Regions from separate parts of the Homo sapiens genome. Here regions 1 and 2 are each linked to region 3. The links are contacts of gene promoters, found by promoter capture Hi-C in blood cells and fetal thymus (Javierre and others, 2016). All regions are on one chromosome and are shown on one strand. Each heading gives the region's core, a stretch centred on a gene start or on the middle of the fragment in contact. The rest is flanking DNA. Distances are from core to core; before and after follow the strand shown. Region 1 holds the start of SDS (serine dehydratase). Region 2 overlaps DDX54 (DEAD-box helicase 54). Region 3 holds the start of OAS1 (2'-5'-oligoadenylate synthetase 1).

Region 1 (4,474 bases), core at 1,057-3,556, 500 kb before region 3:
TTAAGTACTTTTTTCTTTAAATCATTTCATTAGAGCTCTGTTGTCTATTTTTAGTAGTAACATTAGATACATGTATTAGACACAGACAGAGGTAGATCTTATAAATTCATAAGACTTCCTTTTTTTTCCTCCTATTTAAGACTTTGAATTTCTTTTTCTTTTCTTCTTTGTTTCTTTCTTTTTTTTTTTTTTTTCTGAGACAGGGTCTCACTCTGTTGCCCAGGCAGGAGTGCAGTGGTGTGGGCATGGCTCACTGCAGCCTCAACCACTCAGGCTCAAGTGATCCTCCCACCTCAGCCTTCCAAGTAGCTTGGACTATAGTTGCATGCCACCATACCCAGCTAATTTTTTATTTTTTGTAGAGATGGGGTCTCACTATGTTGCCCAAGCTGGTGTCAAACTCCTGGGCTTAAGCCATCCTCCCACCTAGGCCTCCCAACATGCTGGAATTAGTGCTAGTCACCCTACGCCCAGCCCAACCTCTAATTTCTGGATAACCTGTTTCATTACCCTAGGCAACTGCCAGCTAGATAGCCTTAAATTTACATACTAAATAAACAACTCTTAGATGAAAATCAGATAGCAAAATGTTTATCTCAAAGTAGAGAAAGAGAGAAAAGAGAGTCTGGGTGTGTTAGAGAGATTTAAAATGGATGCCACAGCTGGCATGGTGGCTGACACCTGTAATCCCAACACTTTAGGAGGCTGAGATGGGAGGATGGCTCGACCTCCTCCCATCTCAGGAGTTCAAGACCAGCTTGGGAGGCTGAGGTGGGAGGATTGTTTGAGCCTGGGAAGTCAAGGCTGCAGTGAGCCATGATCGCACCACTGTACTCCAGCCTGAGCAACAGAGTCTCAAAAAAAAAAAAAAAAGCAAATCAAATCAAACATTAAGTTATAGAAATCTATCAAATAAATATATTTTATTTAGATAGGTAGTTTTACATTTAGTTTCTATCTTTTAACTGGAACTCAGAGCTCTGGACAGAGCCCACACTGAATCCCGGGTCTCCAAAGAGAATGATATGGTGGACCTAGGCTGTGTGATGCTTTTACAGTGTACTTTGTTGCAAAGACATTTCTCTAAGGGTCTAAACCATACTCTCTCTTATCTTTAAAAAAAATTTTTTTATATATAACTAGGCCCACACATCCAGACCCTCTCCTGTTTTAAACATTCAAGAGTAGCCCCTGTTGTAATAAAGATTTTAGTCAAAAAAGAAGTCAGGTAACACACAACAAAAGCAAGCAGTTGAAGATCTGAGAGGAACTTATCTGTTTATATTCTTAGGGCTCCATAAGGTTATGGAAAAACAGAGGTTTCTCCCCAAAAAGGAGTCTGGCACTTTCTCTGTTTTCCTTAAGGGAGTCCCAAGCTGTTAGAAATTATTTTAGGTTCCTTGAGCTGTAGAGGGTGGCAAGAGAAAGGAGACAGGCAGAAGTAAATTGGAAAAAACAGAAATCAGTCAACTGAGAAGAAAAAAGAAAACTTTTTCTCAAAAAACAAGATCCTGGCCAAGTGGGGCGGCTCTCACCTGTAATCCCAGCACTGTGGGAGCCTAAGGCCGGTGAATAACTTGAGGCCAGGAGTTCAAGACCCGCCTGGCCAACATGGTGAAATCCTGTCTCTACTAAAAATACAAAAACAATAGCCCAGTGTGGTGGTGTGCGCCTGTAATCCCAGCCACTTGGGAGGCTGAGGCAGGAGAACCACTTGAACCCAGGGAGTGGAGGTTGCAGTGAGCTGAGATCATGCCACTGCACTCTAGCCTGGACGACAGAGTAAGACTCCATCTCAAAAAAAAAACAGATCCTAAGAGAGAAAAAAATGCATTAAGGCCCTATGAATAAATAAATAAATAAATACACACACACACACACACACACACACATCTTAGATATTCGCCTTTAATTAAGCTTTTAACCATTGAGCTCTTTAAAAAATCCTTTTAAATCTCATCACCATATTTTAGCTGGGACAAACTGCTAATATTTCAAAAGTAACACAAACATCAAACCAGAAAGGACTTGATTTAGGAACCAAGCCCAGGCCACGGTGGTGAAAAAGGAACAGAATCTTAGCTACTGAACTAGCGTGAGGTGACAGCCATGTAGCCTCTTTCAGTTTGGCTTGGCTAGCAAAAGATGGCCTTGTTATGTAAATAATGCCCCTCAGGTAATCAAAATCCTTGTCTCTCTCTCTCTTTTTTCTTTTGCTGGCTGTTTTTTCTTTTTCCTTTTTTTTTTTTTCCAGCTGTGGGTATTTAGCCAATTCATGAGACCTTGTTCGCCATAATATGAAACTTTCCTTCAGATTTGACCAAGTCAAATGGAGTTGGTCCAGTCCAATGGGGAAAAGACAGAAGCAACAAAACAACAACAGAAACAAAAACAGTTAAGCAAGGGAAACAAACAATCAAGCAATTTATACGATTACTGCACGCTCTAAAAGTAGGGAGAAATTAAGACCAGCTGGTTGTTAACCCTAACTTCTAGTCATGGGGCCCAGGCTGAAGACCGCTCTCTACCATCCTAGAAGCGGGGAAATCTCAAACTTGCCTTCCCTGCCGGACACAAGCGAAACTCCAGAAAGGAGCTGCCTGCTTGCCATCATCATGGAAGCCAGAAAACTCACCTTCCTTGTTGGAAGTGAGTAAAACGCAGAAAAGGAGCTGTTCAGGGAAATCAAGCTTAGATATCAACCAATTGTGGGAGATCAGGAGTTCTCTGGAGGTGGGGAGCTCCCAGGCCTCAGCAAACTGTCCTATTTTGGAGGGCAATCAAGATCGCTCAAGGCCGGCATGGTGGCTCACGCCTGTAATCCCAGCACTCTAGGAGACTGAGGCGGGTGGATCACTTGAGGTCAGGACTTCAAGACCAGCCTGGCTAACATGGTGAAACCCCATCTCTACTAAAAATACAAAAAATTAGCTGAGTGTGGTGGCACATGCCTATACTCCCAGTTATTTGGGGGGTTGAAACAGGAGCATCGCTTGAACCCAGGAGATGGAGGTTGCAGTGAGCCAAGATCATGCCATTGCACTCCAGCCAGGGTGACAGAGCAAGACCCACCAAGCACCAGTAGGAGACTTGTCAAAGGTCAGGGCCACCTCCACCCAGGGTCCCTTTCATGAGTCTCCAATCTGTAAATCAAAAAGAATCAAAAAGATTGAGACAGGACTCAATCCATTTAGAAATTTATTTCGCCAGGGTTAAGAATGCACCTGGGAGACAGGTCTGTGCTTTTCTCCAGAGATGACTTTAGGTGTCAGTATTTAAAGGAGAAAAGCAAGCTGGAGGGGAAAGAAGGAGGCTATGGCCACATTACCAAATCCACAGTTTGTAAGAGAAGAGGGGCAGATAGGGAAGTAGCCAATTATGTATTTGTCTTGATCTCAATAAATCGGCACTTTACATAAGATAAGGTGAACATAGAGTAGCGACCTGTGGAGATATTTAACTTTTTTTTTTCTTTCTGTTGTGAAGGCTGGAGTGCAGTGGCGAGATCTAGTCTCACTGTAACCTCTGCCTCCCAGGTTCAAGCAATTCTTGTGCCTCAGCCTCCTGAGTAGCTAGGATTACAGGCACGTGCCACCACACCCGGCTGATTTTTGTATTTTTAGTAGAGACGGGATTTCACCATGTTGGCCAGGCTGGTTTCGAATTCCTGACCTCAGGTGATCCACCCGCCTCGGCCTCCCAAAATGCGGAGCCAATATTTAACCTTTCATCTGAAGCTATCTGCTTAGGAACTAAAGGAAAGGCAGTTTCTTACATGACTCAGCTTTTAGCTTAATTCTTTTTCTTTTGGCATAGTGAGTTGGGGGTCCCAATTTTTTATTTTCCTTTCACGAAACTGAGGACAGAAAGGGGAAGTGGAAAGAGGGAGGAGGAGTGGGTTGTGGGAAAGGCAGGAGGAAGCTGCCAAAGAAGAAAGCTTGGCCAGATTCCACCTCCCTTCTGACAGCCTCAGTGGCCTCAAGCCAGGGGGGTGGGTCCTGGCAGGAGGGAGGGGGGGGTGTAGCCAGCCCCAGGGCCCCATTGGCTGCCCAGAGGTGCCAGAGGAATAAAGCCCAGGACCAAGTAGCCCCTGGGACCATTCAGAAGACTGTCCACCCGTCCTCAGCCCCCTCTCTTCGTGGGCTATCTACTCAGTTGATCCCTCCCTCGCTGGCTTGGCTCTGACTCCTGCTCAGACCCATCACCTTTGCCGGGTAAGTGGCCCCATCCTCAGTCCCACCTCAGGACTGGAGTGTCCCGGGCTAGCCTGTGGTTTCCCAGGGGAAGAGGGAGACATAGAAAGAGTCTGTCAAGGCTGGGCATGGTGGCTGATGCCTGTAATCCCAACACTTTGGAAGGCTGAGGTGGGAGGGTTGCTTGAGGCCACAAGTTCAAGACTGAGCTGGGCAACAGAGTGAGACCCCCCCCAATCTCTACAAAAAAAATTTTTTTTTTTTAAGACAGAGGTCTCACT
Region 2 (4,422 bases), core at 1,677-4,176, 260 kb before region 3:
AGAGATGGTGTCTTGCTGTGTTACCCAGGCTAGTCTCGAGTTTCTGGTCTCAAGTGATTTTCCAGCCTTGGTTTCCCGAAATGCTGGATTACAGGCGTGAGCCACCATGCCCAGTTTAAATAGTAATCTGTAAAGAACAGCTAGCACTCTCATGAGTGTTCCATGTTGAGACTCTGTTCTCAGCACTGTATATACTGACTCATGTGATCCTCATAATAAGGCACAAAGAAGGGGCAGTTATTCGTACAGATGAGGAAAATGAGGCATAGAAAAGTTTGGTAACTTGCCCAAGGTCACACAGCTTGTTTGTAGCAGAATCCGGATAAGGCTTGTGCACTGAGGTGGCATTTGCAGCTTCCCTGAGAGGGCCCTCTGCACACATCATCTCTGATCCTCAGACAACCCTGCAGAGAGGTGGGAGGTGTTGTAAGCTCCATTCCTCCCCAAACTGGCATCACCCAGCAAGCTGGGATTCAGACCAAGGGTGCCAGACTCCAGAACCCGTGGTCTTGTCTCTGCACCTCAGTGCCCGTCCCCCGCCATGGTCTGGCTTCCTTTCCTTTCTCCTCCAAGTCTCCTTCTCACTTTGCTACCATCTTTGCTCTGAGCAGCTGCTGACGACCCAGCGGGTGAGCTGCGCCCACATCTACAGTGCCCTAGACCCGACAGCCCGCAAGATCAATCTCGCCAAATTCACGCTTGGCAAGTGCTCCACTCTCATTGTGACTGACCTGGCCGCCCGAGGCCTGGACATCCCGCTGCTGGACAATGTCATCAACTACAGCTTCCCCGCCAAGGGCAAACTCTTCCTGCACCGCGTGGGTAAGCAGCCCGTGGCTGGCCCTGGGGCAGGCAGGGGTGCCGGATCCTGGCAGAAGCCGAGGGTACAAGGCTTAACTCTTGACACTGCACATGGGGTGGCTGTGGGCCTTGTTTTAGAGACAGAGCCTCGCTATATTGCTTAAGCTGGTCTCAAACTCGCGATCGTGCCACTGCGATCCAGCCTGGGTGACGGAGCAAGATCTTGTCTCAAAAAAACCAAAAAAAAAAAACAACCCAATTATTCAGCTTATGGTTTTTTTGACTTTACAATAGCACCCATACAGCTGTTCTATTTTTTTCTTTCAGTACAGTATTCAATAAGTTACATGAGATACTCAACACTTTATTTTAAAATCGGCTATGTGTGGGATGATTTTGCCCAAGGGTAGGCTAATGGAAGTATTTGGAGCATGCTCAAGGCAGGCTGGCTGAGCTGCGATGTTTAGTGGGTTAGGTGCCGTGCGTGTGTTTTTGACGGCTATTGGGTTTATTGAGACGCAGCCCTTCGTAAGTCACGGAACAGCTGTGGTCTCATTTCAGAGATCACTGTCCCCCATTGCTCTCTGATGACATGGCCGTCATTTTGGTGTGTGTCCATTCTTCTGATGTTTCTATTTTAAGTTGTGGTAAAGTAGACATAGCATGCAATTCAGCATTTTGCCATTTCCCAGTGTGCAGTGGAGTGGCATTGAGTCTGTTCCCATTGTGCAACTGTCACCACCATCTGTCCCCAAAACTTTTTTTTTTTTTTTTGAGAGTCTTGCTTTGTACCCCAGGCTGGAGTGCAGGGGTGTGATCTCGGCTCACTGCAACCTTCACCTCCCAGGTTCTAGCTATTCTCTTGCATCAGCCTCCCGAGTAGCTGGGATTACAGGTGCTCGCCACCAGGCCCAGCTAATTTTTTGTGTTTTTAGTAGAGACAGGGGTTTCACCATGTTGGCCAAGGTGGTCTTGAACTCCTAACCTCAAGTGATGCATCTGCCTCAGCCTCCCAAAGTGCTGTGATTACAGGCGTGAGCCACCATGCTTGGCCCCAGAACTTTTCCATCTTGCAAAATTGAAGCTCTATCCGTCAGACAAAATCTCCTTATTCCCCTCCCGCAGCCCCTGGTAACTGTTATTCTACTTTCTTTGCCTTCTTTTAATTCATAAGTGTCATGTGGTGGGTGCACTTCCCCCTTGTTGCTGTCTGCTGTCCCCTAGTTTCTGTTGCTGTGTGGAGAGCTGGTTCTGCATGTCCCTAGGGAGGTCCCCAGGACGCCCCCAAAGGGAATTTCTTGTGCCTCACAAGACCAACAGTGCCGGTCAGACAACCTCAAATGAAATCTCCAAATGTCATAACACCTTGTTTTCCCAAGATACAGAGACAAACCAAAATATAATGCTATGTAGTGATTTAGGTACTTCATGCAAAATTGCAATCATATTGGGTGTTCTTTTTTATAACTGGCTTTTTGTTTTTTTCTTTTTACATCACCATACATCACGAATGTTTTTCGTTTACTATGAAATGTCATTCTGTGATGGGTTGGCACATCTTTTCTGTAAGGGGCTAGACATGAAACGTTAGGCTTTGTGGACCATACTGTCTCTGTCATAACTGTTCATCTCTGCTGCTGTCGTGTGACTGCTGCCTATTCATTTATATAGATAATATATAAACAAATGAGTGTGGCTGTGTTCCAATAAATCTTTATTTACACAGACAAGCAGGGGGCCGGGATCTCACTCTGTTGCTTGGGCTCTAGTGCTGTGGCATGATCATAGCTCACTGTAAGCTTGAACTCCCAGATTCAAGCAATCCTCCCAGCTCAGCCTCCCAAGTACTTAGGGCTACAGGCACACACCATCACATCTGGCTAATTTTCGTTTTTTGTAGACATGGGGTCTTGCTATTTTGCCCAGGCTGTTCTCGAACTCCTGGCCTCAAGTGATTCTCCCACCTCAGCCCCTCAAAGTGCTGTGATTACAGGCGTGAGCCACCAGCCTGGCCCTGTAGGCTGCAGTTTGCCCACTCTTTTCCTGAGCTGTTTAATTCCCACTGTGTGGCCATCAGCTAATTCACTTATCTAGTCCTCTACCCTTGAGACTTTAGTTTCCAACTTGGGGCTGTCCTAGTCAGGGCCACACTAAACCTCCTTGTGTGTGAATCTTTACATCTTTGCGGGGAATTCTCAAAAGTGGGGACACTGAAGAGTTTTGATCATGCTCATGAGCAGGGCCTTGCTGTATTTTTGCTAGTCTCCCAGAGCACTGTGTCAGCTTGGGCACACTCTCACAGATCAACCTAGGGACCGGGATTAAACTTCCCTGTGCGTAGGTGGGGACAGCAGCCGTGTGAGGTTCGAGGCTTGGCCAGGCTCACCTGCTCAGGGTCTGGCCTGTGGAACTCATGCTGGGTCCGGGTCCTTCTTTGCTTAATTAAGCTTGAACGTCTCCTTGCTGCAGGCCGTGTGGCTCGGGCTGGCCGAAGTGGCACAGCCTACTCCTTGGTGGCCCCTGATGAAATCCCCTACCTGCTGGATCTGCACCTGTTCCTGGGCCGCTCCCTCACCCTCGCCCGACCCCTCAAGGAGCCCTCAGGTGAGTGGAGGCTGGGTGGGGATAGGGGTCCCCGTGGAGTTCATGGGCCCTGTTTTGGCTGTGGGAGGAGGTAGGGCTGGGTTTGACCCCAGCAGAAGATGATTCCTTTTATTTATTTTATTGTATTTTATTTGTTTTGTTTATTTTTTGAGACAGAGCCTCGCTCTGTTGCCCAGGCTGGGGTGCAGTGGTGTGATCTTGGCTCACAGCAACCTCTGCCTCCCAGGTTCAAGCCATTCTCTTGCCTCAGCCTCCCGAGTAGCTGGGACTATAGATGCCCGCCACCACGCCTGGCAAATTTTTTATTGTATTTTTAGTAGAGACAAGGTTTCACCATGTTGGCCAGGCTGATCTCGAACTCCTGACCTCAAGTGATTCGCCCACCTCCCAAAGTGCTGGGATTACAGGTGTGAGTCACTGCGCCCGGCTGATTCCTTCTATTTTTTAACGAGACGGGGTCTTACTCTTGCTCAGGCTGGAGTGCAGTGGTGCGATCATGGCTCGCTGCAACTTCCAACTCCTGGGCTCAAGCAAGCCACTATGCCTGGCTAATCCCTCTATTTTAAACTCAGGATTTCCCACAACAATCCAGATTTCTGGTATCTACTGGGAAACAGTTGGATCTGGGTGCTAAGCTGTGGCACCCCCATTAGACAGGCTTCCTGGTCCCCTGCAGCCCCTGCCTGCCTCCCCTTCCTGTCAGTGTGGCCTGCCCAGCCCCTGCAGGCATCTAGTGTGTGACCCTATACTTGATGAGTTTTCAGGGGAGCGCAGCGGAGGGAAAGAGAGGCTGAGGCTCATTCAGACCAAGCCCACAGGACATTTTTAATTTATTTATTGAGACAGAGTTTCGCTCTTGTTGCCCAGGCTGGAGTGCAGTGGTGCAATCTTGGCTCACCACAACCTCCGCATCCTGGGTTCAAGCGATTCTCCTGCCTCAGCCTCCCGAGTAGCTGGGACTGCAGGCACACACAACCACGCCCAGCTAATTTTGTATTTTTAGTAGAGACAGGGTTT
Region 3 (4,756 bases), core at 1,295-3,794:
AAAATTTTTAGTAGAGATGAGGTTTCACTTTGCTGCCCAGGCTGGTCTTGAACTCCTGGGCTCAAGCGACCCTCCTGCCTCAGCCTCCAAAAGTGTTGGAATTACAAGCATGAGCCACCACACTTGGCTGGAAGTTCCTATTTTTGAACACCTATTACTCATCAGAGCTGAATGTAGATGATCATTTATCACTTAAAATAATGATATGATACAGGTAGTGTGGTTTTACCAATTCTCCTGATGTGGCAAGGGAGCCTCTGAGAGGTTACACTTCCTGTCCAAATGTTCCTGCAAATTATAAATATCTATCTCCCAACGTGCTGCATACGTTTGATGAGATCTCATGTTGGGACAAAGATGAGAGTAACATGAACTTTAAGCCACATCTTTGCTGCCTGATTTTAGAAAGATAAAATTCACACATTTTGCCTTAAACAGAACCAGTAAGCCTTGCAGATGTTCTGTAAGAAATGTCTTTGTCCCCACATTATGCCAATTTGCTGTTTAATGTCTCTCCTGTGATAGATCATGACCGTATTCATTCTTGCCCCGGGACAGATCCTAAGATCTCCTCCCACCCTGCTTTAGAGAGATGCCCTGTTGGGGCAAAAAGCTCTCAAACTGTGGGAGATTTCTGCTCAGAAATGGGAAGAGGGAGAAAAAGAAGCTGGGAGCTCTCACCCAGGGCATCAAAGGCAGGCAGCACATCGAACTCCACCCCCTCCCCGAGCTGGAGCGAACTCAGTACGAAGCTGAGCGCACGGGGGTTGCCCCAGCGTGGAGCCTGGACCTCAAACTTCACGGAAAATGCTCTCTCTCTTTGACAGGCTTCCAGCTGTCTCCTAATTTCCTGGATGAACTCTCCCCGGCGATTTAACTGATCCTGAAAAGTGGTGAGAGGACTGAGGAAGACAACCAGGTCAGCGTCAGATCGGCCTCTGAGGGTGGTGCCCTTGCCTGAGGAGCCACCCTGAAAAAGACGACAAAAATAATAATTGATGCTTAGTGAGGCAAACCTCCCTAAATAAAATGACAGGAGCAATCACTAACATTATGGAGCACTAGCCACTGTTCTGAAGGCATTGCATGTCTTAAACTCCTATAATGCTCACAATGATGCTATGATTTGGATGCCATTATCATTAGTTCCCATTTTACAGATGGGAAAATGGATGCTCAGTGAGATAATATATCAGCCCCATCACCCAGCTAGTAGGTGGCAAATACAATTCAAACCTGGGGGCCTTCTTCCAGGATCTGTGTTCTTTTCCCATTGTCCTTTACGATGCCCAGGACTAGCTTATGCTGGGTGGTTCACACTTACTATTTTACTTAATCTACACGGCCCTATGAGGTATTGAGGGAAAGTAGAGGAAAAATCAGTTAGGTAAATGGTCAAGGCTGGGCCCTGGAGGAGCGGCCTGCCTGAAACTGGCGCAGGGAGTGGGACTTACCTAAAACAAATCCACAGTTATACATACAAGAGAAGCAGCGCTTTATGCTTGCCTAGAGATATACCCACAGCTGCATAAGGTAAGGGAAGTTGCACAGCTTTACTGATAAAAAGTTTCTCAAACAGTTACAGGGAGGAGAGTGGTTTCTTATAAAAGTTTTTTGCATTCAGCTGCAATCTGGCAATCCACTCAGACTTCCCTCTCCACAGTGGAGACAGCTTTCTTCTTTTGCTTACTGAACTTTTGCTCCAAGCTCACGTTTGTGTCCATGTTCCTTAATTTTCTTGGATGCAGGACAAAGAACCTTGGGTACTAATTCAGTGAGAAGCTGCTACATTAAGGTGCACTGGCAAGACTGCAACAGTATTGGGGATTATGGCTGAGGAAATTGGAACACAGAGTAGTTAAGTGACTTGCTCAAGGTCTTGCAGCCAGCAGGTGCTATTTGCTTTCAAAACATATGATTCTTCACTGCAGAAATGGTGAGCCCCTAGCCTGGCCACGAATTAGCAAACTGTTTACCAGAGCTGGGATTCAGTTCCCTATTTCTGAAATGGGCATCGCCCAGGACAGTGGTTCATAAACTTCAGCGGGAAGTAGGGGGGAGGGTCACTTGTTAATAATAGGGATGTAGGATTTCACCCCAGAATCTATTTTAACATGCTGTGTGGATAAATAAGAAACCACCATCCCAGAAGATCTCAGCTCTCTGTACTCACATTTGCACCCTGGGTTCTAGGTTTTTGCTTCTCTCTCTCTCTCTCTCTCATTCTCAATCTCAACTCTTGCACATTCAGCCACCCCTCCCCTGGCCAGGCAGGCCTGGACTCACCTTTACCACCTTGGACACACACACAGGGTAGGAGCTACCTCGGAAGCACCTTTCCTTCAGGAACCCACAGATGATGTCAATGGCATGGTTGATTTGCATGCGGAAACACGTGTCTGGCAAGAGATAGTCTTCAATGAACTTGTCCAGAGATTTGGCTGGGGTATTTCTGAGATCCATCATTGACAGGAGAGAGAGTGGCAACAGAACTGCCTCCCAGACCTGTTTGCTTTTATCTCTTCTGCTGACTGAGCTTGGACTGCTGTTGGTTTCGTTTCCTCAGAAGGGAGGAGCTGTCTTTGCACTTTCCTTTTGCAAATCAGACACTCCCCTGATCCCAGTGCTGAATTTCATCTGCTCACTCTTCTGCTTCCTGAAACTTACCCTTTGTCCTTTAGCCAGCAACAAGCAGCCCAGCCTTTCTCTGAACTCTGCTCTGGAAATGCATTTTAACCTCCAGCCAACATAAATCTTATTTAACAGATTTTGTGTTTCCTTCTTTATCTTTTTTTTGTTGTTGATGAAATCCTTTCACAGTTGTCTGTGGTATTTTCCAGCAATACATGCCCACTGCAAAAAGAAAAAAAGTCAGAAAAACCAGGAAGTGGAAAGATCATCTATGATTCTAACACTACAAAATTGCCTCTATAAACGTTTTGATATAGAGCTTTCCAGATTTTTTTCAAATGTTAACACACACACAAACACAGGTCTCTTTTCTTTTTGTTAAGAATGGTATTATACTATGCTTTTTTCCCTTTCAATTAGTAGATTTTTATTTTATTTTATTATTTTTTGGAGACAGGATCTTGCTTTGTTATCCAGGCTGGAGTGCAGGGGCATGATCATGACTCGTGCAACCTCAACTTCCTGGGTTCAAGGGATCCTCCTGCCCCAGCCTCCTGAATACCTGGGACTACAGGCATGCGTTACTGCACCCAGCTCATTTTTTATTTTTTGTAGAGACAAGGTCTTGCTATGTTGCCCAGGTTGGATTTTATTTCTCACAGCAGTTTTAGGCTTACAGAAATATTGAGCTGAATGTGCAGAGAGTTCCATAAGCTCTCTCTCCTGCCAATAAGTTCCTCTATTATTAACAGTACTGTGATACATTTGTTACAATTGATGAATTGATATTAATACATCATAATTAACAAAAGTCCATTTACATTAAGGTTTACATTAAGGTTCACTCTTGTGTCCTACAGTTCTATGGATTTTGCCAAACATAACATGTCATGTATCCACCATTACAGCACCATGCAGAATAGTTTTGAGATAGGAGGTGGGGCTTGACTCAGGGCCAGATTGAAGACTGGCTGGCATGAGCACCAGCACCATGAACAGTTTACTCATTCCCTGGCAATGACCCAGTTACCACCCTTCTTCTAGAAATTTCTGAATAACCTGCCCTTAATTTGCACGTATTTAAAAGTGGGTATGAATGTGACTATAGAAGTGCCCTGAGCTGCTGCTCTCCAGGCACTGCCTATGGGGTGGCCCTGCTCTGCAGGGACAGTCACAGAACTGTAACCCTGCTGCCTCAATAAACCTTTTTCTTCCTCCTCTAGCTCACCCTTGAATTCCTTCCTGGACGAAGCCAAGAGCCTTCCCGGACGGTGTCCCAGTTTTGGGGCTCCCCTGCCCTGCAAGAGTTTCACTACCTTAAAATCCCCTATGCCTCACCTGTTCATCCCTCTCTGAGTTAGATCTTTCTTCTCCTAATATATGCATTCAATGCTATAACTTTCCCTCTAAACACTACTTTCACTACATCCCACACTTTTTGATAGGCTGTTTTTTCATTTTAATTTAATTCAAAATATATTTATTTATTTTGTTGAGACAGGGTCTCACTCTGTTGCCCAGGCTGGGGTGCAGTGGCACAATCTTAGCTCACTGCAGCCTTGACCTCCTGGGCTCAGGTGATCCTCCCACCTCAGCCTCCCAAGTAGCTGGGACTACAGGTACATGCCACCATGCCTGGCTAATTTTTGTATTTTTTGTAGAGATGGGGTTTCTGCATGTGGCCCAGTCTGGTCTCGAACTCCTGGGCTCAAGCGATCCATCTGCCTCAGCCTCCCAAAGTGCTAGGATTATAGGCGTAAGCCACTGAGCCTGGCCCAAAATATTTTAAAATTTCTCTTGAGACTTCTTCCTTGCCCCATGTGTTATTTAGAGGTGTGTTCTTTAATCTCCATATATTTTGGAATTTTCCAGCTATCTTTCTTTTGTGGGTTTCTTTTTTAATTCCATTGTAGTAAAGGGCATGCTTTGCATAACATATCTCTGTTGAAATTTGTTAAAGTGTGTTTTCTAGCCCAGAACATAATATGTCTTGGTGAATGTTCTGTGTGAGTTTGAGAAGAATGTGTTTCCTGTTTTTGTTGGATGAAATATTTTGTAAATGCCAACTATCTTTCTTACAAACCCTTAACCTCTTAACCAGATTATTCATGAGTTGACACTCTCC

Evidence for each region. Contacts are between HindIII fragments. The CHiCAGO score rates a contact against its expected background, and 5 or more counts as called.
Region 1: a contact is called between a fragment that was not itself captured here and the fragment with the promoter of OAS1 in region 3, in 1 of 17 cell types (naive B cells). The highest score is 5.7, in naive B cells.
Region 2: a fragment that was not itself captured here is called in contact with the fragment with the promoter of OAS1 in region 3 in 2 of 17 cell types (naive B cells and naive CD4 T cells); the score reaches 6.8 in naive B cells.

The regions. Positions count from the first base shown.
Region 1 is chr12:113,403,508-113,407,981 of GRCh38, reverse strand. SDS (serine dehydratase) reads left to right here and starts at 4,095. Exons shown (of 8, transcript NM_006843.3): 1 at 4,095-4,214. The HindIII fragment of the contact is 773 bases long and covers 1,920-2,692 here.
Region 2 is chr12:113,168,753-113,173,174 of GRCh38, reverse strand. It overlaps DDX54 (DEAD-box helicase 54), which reads left to right. Exons shown (of 20, transcript NM_024072.4): 11 at 612-822; 12 at 3,271-3,405. Among named protein-coding and RNA genes, the nearest start is that of MIR7106, 12 kb to the right of the region's middle. The HindIII fragment of the contact is 648 bases long and covers 2,603-3,250 here.
Region 3 is chr12:112,904,750-112,909,505 of GRCh38, reverse strand. It overlaps OAS1 (2'-5'-oligoadenylate synthetase 1), which reads right to left and starts at 2,544. Exons shown (of 6, transcript NM_016816.4): 1 at 2,287-2,544; 2 at 682-970. The coding sequence starts at 2,466. RefSeq lists an enhancer at 2,264-2,703. The HindIII fragment of the contact is 17,002 bases long and covers 1-4,756 here.